Regions from separate parts of the Homo sapiens genome. Here region 2 is linked to region 1. Evidence: promoter capture Hi-C in human tissues and cell types (Jung and others, 2019). All regions are on one chromosome and are shown on one strand. The core of a region is centred on a gene start or on the middle of the fragment in contact, and the rest is flanking DNA. Distances in the headings are between cores, read along the strand shown.

Region 1 (3,228 bases), core at 380-2,879:
TGGCCAACATGGTGAAATGCCCTCTGTACTGAAAATAGAAAAAATAGCTGGGCATAGTGGCAGCCACCTGTAATCCCAGCTACTCAGGAGGCTGAAGCAGGAGAATCACTTGCACCCAGGAGACGGAGGTTGCAGTGAGCTGAGATTGCACCACTGCACTCCAGCCCGGGCAACAGAGTGAGACTCCAGTCTCAAAAAAAAAAAAAAAAAAAAAAAAAAGTAAAAAGAAAACGCAATGGAAACAGCAGGTTCTATAAAATAAAGAATGAAAAAATAGGCTGGGCGCGGTGGCTCACGCCTGTAATCCCAGCACTTTGGGAGGCCGAGGCGGGTGGATCATGAGGTCAGGAGATGGGGATCATCTTGGCTAACACCGTGAAACCCCGTCTCTACTAAGAATACAAAAAAATTAGCTGGTTGTGGTCGCGGGCGCCTGTAGTCCCAGCTACTTAGGAGGCTAGGCAGGAGAATGGTGTGAACCCAGGAGGCGGAGCTTGCAGTGAGCCGAGATTGCACCACTGCACTCCAGCCTGGGGGACAGAGAGAGACTCCGTCTCAAAAAAAAAAAAAAAAGAAAAAGAAAAAGAAAAAATAAAGGCCTACAGAAAGAATGACTGAATGGAAGAGACAGACCATGCCATCTATCACTGGCAGGTTTAATATGGAAGAATCATGGAAAGGCTCCAGGAACATGAGGAGCGGCATACAAAAAAGCTTGACACACACACACACACACACACACACACACACACACACACATATATATATATTTTTTCTTTTTGAGATGAAGTCACGCTCTTGTCCCCCAGATTGGAGTGCAGTGGCGCAACCTCGGCTCACCGCAACCTCCGCCTCCCGGGTTCAAGCGATTCTCCTGCCTCAGCCTCCTGAGTAGCTGGGATTACAAGCGCCTGCCACCACACCCAGCTATTTTTTTGTATTTTTAGTAGAGACGGGGTTTCAGCATGTTGGCCAGGCTGGTGTCAAACTCCCGACCTCAGGTGATCCGCCCGCCTTGGCTTCCCAAAGTGCAGGGATTACAGGCGTGAACCACTGGCGCTTGGCCTTATATATATATTTTAATAGAGACAGGGTCGAGCCGGGCACAGGCCTGGGCAACAAGAGTGAAACTCTGTCTCAAAAAAAAAAAAAAAAAAAAAAAGAAAAGAAAAAAAAAGACACACGGTCTTGCTATTTCACTCAGGCTGGTCTGGAACTCTTGGACTCAAGCTATCCACCTGCCTTAGCCTCCCAAAGTGCTGGAATTACAGGCGTGAGCCACTGAGCCCGCCCAGGATAAGCTTTGGAGGAGCATCCTCTGGGGTGCGTCCCATCCCCCATCCCCGCCTTTCCAACCCGTCTGGGCACCTGAAACGCGGGCTAGGCCGGGTCCCACCTCTAAACCGCCCCCAAATATGGGCCCCACCCCTCGCCCACGGTTCCGTCCAGAGGTCCGGTTCTAAACTCATCTTTTTCTCTGAACCCGTTTCTGCATCCCGCTCCCTGAGCCAACCCCAGGCACTGTCCGGCACCCACCCAGGAGGAAACTAGAATTTCTTTGTCCTACGTGCCTGAAACTCAAGCCCTGGAGCCCCACCCGGCCGGAGGCTCGGAGCGGAAGTGACGTCAGTGTGCCACCGCCATCTTTACCGGCTGTGGCTCAGCATGGTCAGTGCCGTTTAACCTTTATTGTGGTGGAGTCCACCCCGCTGTGGTGAGTTCTACCTGCTTGGGGGTCCGGGACATACCAGCGGGGCGGCAAAGGAAGGATTGGGCGTGGTCGCCCAGGAGCCTCTCAGATCCGCCTAGTTTCACTCGCTTTTCTAGGGGCTGTCAGTCCTCCTGGTGCGGCCTCTGGCCAGTTCCGAGAGGCCGCACAGTCCGTCTGGCTGCGTCGGGAAGTGTGTTTGTTCCGCCTCCGCCGGGTGTTTTCTTGAGTACTTTCATCCGCTGTGCTCCTCTCTTGAAAAGCTTGGAAAGCAACCTTTGGGAGTTTTTTTCTTTCCGAAAGGAAAAGGATTTCTGCCCTTCTGGTGAGGTTGGCTCTGGCCCCGCATTCTCCCGCGTCTGGAACCTATCTCTTCCGGCATGTTCCTGGTGAGCAACGGCGGAAAAATGGTTTCAAGAGGGCTGTGACTTCCATTTATTTGCTAAAAAATGTCTCATCTGAGAATCTGGCGTTGTCTTGATGTCCTTTACTTTTTTTTTTTTTTTGATTTGGAGTCTTACTCTGTCGCCCACGCTGGAGTGCAGTGGCACGATGTTGGCTCACTGCAACTTTCACCTCCCGGGTTCAAGTGATTGTTAGATATGAGTTTTAAATTTCTTTTTAAAAAATCAATATGTCAGTATGTTTAATTCTTTGCCTTCTACTTTTAAACTTCTCCGTAAAGCAACCTTTTTCGATCACCTGCTCCACCCTGACTCATTCTGATTACCTGCTCCACCCAGACTTATTTCGATTACTTACTCCACCCTGACTCATTTTCCACCCTGACTCATTCCAATTTCCTGCTCTGTTATAACCATTTTCCCCAACAAACCACTCACCCTGTCACTCTCTTTAAATTAGCCAATTGGAATTAGTTTAGCCTGTGGGGTCTAACCCTAGCCATCGGGGAAGGACAAAGCGGCAGGGGCCACTTTCCTCAAGAATAAGAACCCCTTCCCCTCCCTTGTCCTGGTGTGTGCTCACCATTGCTCCATCTGTGAGGGCACACCCTTCTGTAGAAGTAAATTGCCTTGCTGAGAAAAGAAAATGTTATATTTGAGTGCTTTTTTTTTGTGGCATGAAAACTTTATAACATGATTCACCTGCCTCAGCCTCCCGAGTAGCTGGGATTCCAGGCGTGCACCACCACACCTGGCTAATTTTTTATATTTTTGGTAGAGATGGGGTTTCACCATGTTGGCCAGGCTGGTCTCGAACTCCTGACCTCAAGTGATCCACCCGCCACTTATTTTTGACACATTACATTCAGATGGAAAAAACATAGTTGTTTAGGGTGTGCCCGTTTTTGTATGTAAATATGAACGCGTGTAGACTAAGCCTTTAGTTTTTAATTTTTATTTTCTTGCAGGTTATTTTTTTTCTAATTGTTACCAGCTGCAAGCCTTTCTACTTAAAGCCAGGCCAGATGCACTGGCTCACACCTGTAATCACAGCACTTTGGGAGGCAGAGGCAGGCGGATCACCTGAGGTCAGGAGATCCAGACTAGCCTAGCCAA
Region 2 (3,217 bases), core at 84-2,583, 34 kb before region 1:
ATATTATTGTTGCTAGCTTTATCCTTTTTCTTACCTTGTTTGGGGTATTTCCCATCTTGATGGTTTTAGGGTGAGGCTCAATCTCCCCTACTGGAGATTTCTTGCCTTTTGGGGTAAGTCTCAATTTCCCCTACTGGAAATTTCTTGCAATATGGGGTGAGGCTCAATTTCCCCTAATGGAAATTTTTTGCCTTCCTTGCTACTGGAGGTTCCTGTGAGGCTCAATCCCCCCTACTGGGAATTTTTTGCCTCTTCTTTCACTTCATCCTTCTCTAGCCATGTTAGGTCCCTCTTGGCATTGGTGGGTTGGTATAAACCCCCATCCTGGACTCCTTTACAGGTGGGTCACCCTAAGCCATATGAGGTGACCACAGAACTGCAGATCTAGACTTAACACTCATTTCACATGCAATTGTGCATCTTATTCATACACTATTAACTTCCAAGATACCCCTTCCAAGGAATACTTCACCACCCCCGCAGTTTTTCATGCCTTGGTGTGTCCTCACCAAGGAATATTTCACTGCCCCTGTGGCTTTTCTTAGCTTGGTCATGACCACCTAGGAAATACTTTGCCAGCTCCTGCAGCATTTCTTACCTTGGTCTGTGGACAGAGTTATCTGGTCACCACGGTATTTGTAGGTCTTTTCTTCCCATGTTGCTGAGAGTCCGGGTTTATTCATCACACTAGGGGGGTCTCCATTCCTTACCCCTGAGGCTACTGCAATGAGGCAGTGGGGCATGTGTCCTCACAGGAGAGGATGGAAAACCCTCTGGGAGGAGAATGGGGTCCTTGTACAGGCCACCAAATTGTTAGAAACATACTATTTGTGCTGCAAAAGAAATAGCAGTCGAACATAAATTTTCTCAGAAAGTCAAATTTACTTCTACAGAAGCATGTGTCTCGTGGATGGAGCAATGGCAAGAGCTCATCAGACAAAAGACAGCAGGGGTTTTTAATCCCTAATGCACTTGGCCTTAGTTGATGTGTCATTCCCCTATTGGTTGGGGTTGAACCACACAGTCTAAACTGAATGCAGTTAGCTAATTTGAAGAGTACAGGGAAGAACAGTTGTGGCAGGGAAGGCTGTTACAGCAGGGAGGGGGTGACTTCTTGGTGGGCATGCCTGAGCACAGCAGGATGGGAGGGGCTGATAGACTGGTGGGCAAGGTTAATTTAAGCAACAGGGAAATAAGACTTCAGGACAGACAGTACAAGGAAGTAAAGACCTCTTGCAGAGGAACACTTTGTAACAAAATGAAACCCTTTGAAGAGGAACTATCTAAACTACTTGTTTTTAACATTTATATTCGCATGTTTCTGGAGGCTGAAAATCTGAGATCAGAGTGCCAGCATGGCCCACTTCTGGTGAGAGCTCTCTTCCTGGCATGTAAATGCCTAATTCCTCATGTCTTCACATGATGGAGACCAAGAAACGGGTCGTGCTCTCACTCTCGCTCTCCCTCCCCACAGCCCCTTGTGTCCCTCGACCTCATTTAATGATACTCCCTAAAGATCCTATTTTGACATACACTCACATTGGGGTTTGGGGCTTCAACAAATGAATTTTGGGGTCATTGTTCAGTCCAAAGTACTTAATATGACTCTTTTCCCTTTCCACATAGGCAGTGAGATAATCTGTAAGTAATGACTTATTTTTCCCTTTCAGTCATTAGGTTATATAAATATATATTTTCTTGCTTTACTGAATGGATTTTAACCTCCAGCACAACACCAACTAAAAGTAGTAATGTCAGCATAGTTGTCTTTGCAGTTGTGGTGAGATATGTGCTCTATTTTATTGGCTTGGCTGTAGGTTTTTATTTTTTGAAGCTTCTATCTCCTACAGGAATATATATAATCCCAGCACTTTGGAAGGCCGAGATGGGCAAATCACAAGGTCAGGAGTTCAAGACCAGCCTGGCCAACATGGTGAAACCCCATCTCTACTAAAAATACAAAAAATTATCTGGGCTTAGTGGTGGCCACCTGTAATCCCAGCTACTTGGGAGGCTGAGGCAGGAGAATCGCTTGCACCCGAGAGGCGGAAGTTGCAGCGAGCTGAGATCATGCCACTGCACTCCAGCCCTGGTGATGTAGCAGGACAAGCCACAGACAAAACTCCGCAGACACGGAGCTAAAGAAGGAAGAGGTTTATTCAGCCGGGAGCATCGGCAGGACTCCTGTCTCAAGAGCCGAGCTCCCCGAGTGAGCAATTCCTGTCCCTTTTAAGGGCTCCCAACTCTAAGCGGGTCCATGTGAGAAGGTCGTGGTCGATTGAGCAAGCAGGGGGTACGTGACAGGGGCTGCATGCACCGGTGCTCAGAGTGAAACAGAACCGACCGGGAAGTTTTACAATGCCTTTCCATACAATGTCTGGAATCCATAGATAACATAACTGGTTAGGTCAAGGGTCGATCTTTAACTACCAGGCTTAGGCCTGGTTTAGGGTCTGGTTCCTAGGCACCAGGCTACCTGCCTTTAGTTTTGCTTTTCTTTCTTTTTCTGAGTATAAAACAACATAAAACAATATGAGAGGGTCTGTCTTCTCTCATTTCCCGGCTTTGAGACTCTCACTTTTTATTAGTGGGAATTCTCACTCTTATTTTTGCTACTTATGTCTTCCTGTGCAATAGATTGATAATGATTCATACAGTACACTTGTGCTAATACATAACATGAAGGGACATTGAGAGACTGGGCTATATGCTCGGCTAATTGCAAAAACAAATTTCTTGTTTTTCCTGGAATTTCTGGTACTGGCACATTCAGTTCATCATAGAAGGTTTGAAATACTGGCTCAGGAGAGGGTTTATAAACTTTTCCTCAAACCACGATATTTACTTGAAGATCCAGTCCAGCTCCATCAATTTCTAGGGTTACACATTCCCCTTTTTTCTAGCGAGGATTAAAGGGGTTTGTTATTACTAGTTCTAAGGGGTTATACGGACCACTGGTACAGGAATGGCCACTTTTCCCTTGGTGAAGGTGGACTGCATTTTTTCATTTTTTATCCAAGTAGCCTAAATGACACAAGACCAGTATCTACATTTATTTTTACACAGTCTTAATTTATGATAAACATACTTATTTTCTGTCATATAGCCTCTTTCTTAATTAAGAGAACCACATCCTATTTTTAACTTATTACTATTAATGACAGCACAGGCGTCGAATTTCAAGGTGACTCGTTCAGGCACCTCTTTTTTTTTTGTG

The links. The method cuts DNA at HindIII sites, captures the fragments that hold promoters and counts their contacts. A contact is called where the count stands out against the background at its distance.
Region 2: a contact is called between a fragment that was not itself captured here and the fragment with the promoter of ZNF562 in region 1, in 1 of the 25 tissues and cell types used here (hippocampus).

The regions. Positions count from the first base shown.
Region 1 is chr19:9,673,501-9,676,728 of GRCh38, reverse strand. It overlaps ZNF562 (zinc finger protein 562), which reads left to right and starts at 1,629. Exons shown (of 6, transcript NM_001130031.2): 1 at 1,629-1,714. RefSeq lists enhancers at 423-1,422, 1,685-1,744, 1,423-1,922, 1,461-2,660. The HindIII fragment of the contact is 2,519 bases long and covers 1,009-3,228 here.
Region 2 is chr19:9,707,374-9,710,590 of GRCh38, reverse strand. It overlaps LOC105372270 (a long non-coding RNA gene), which reads right to left and starts at 931. Exons shown (of 2, transcript NR_187774.1): 1 at 599-931. RefSeq lists a silencer at 2,251-2,451. The HindIII fragment of the contact is 3,025 bases long and covers 1-2,845 here.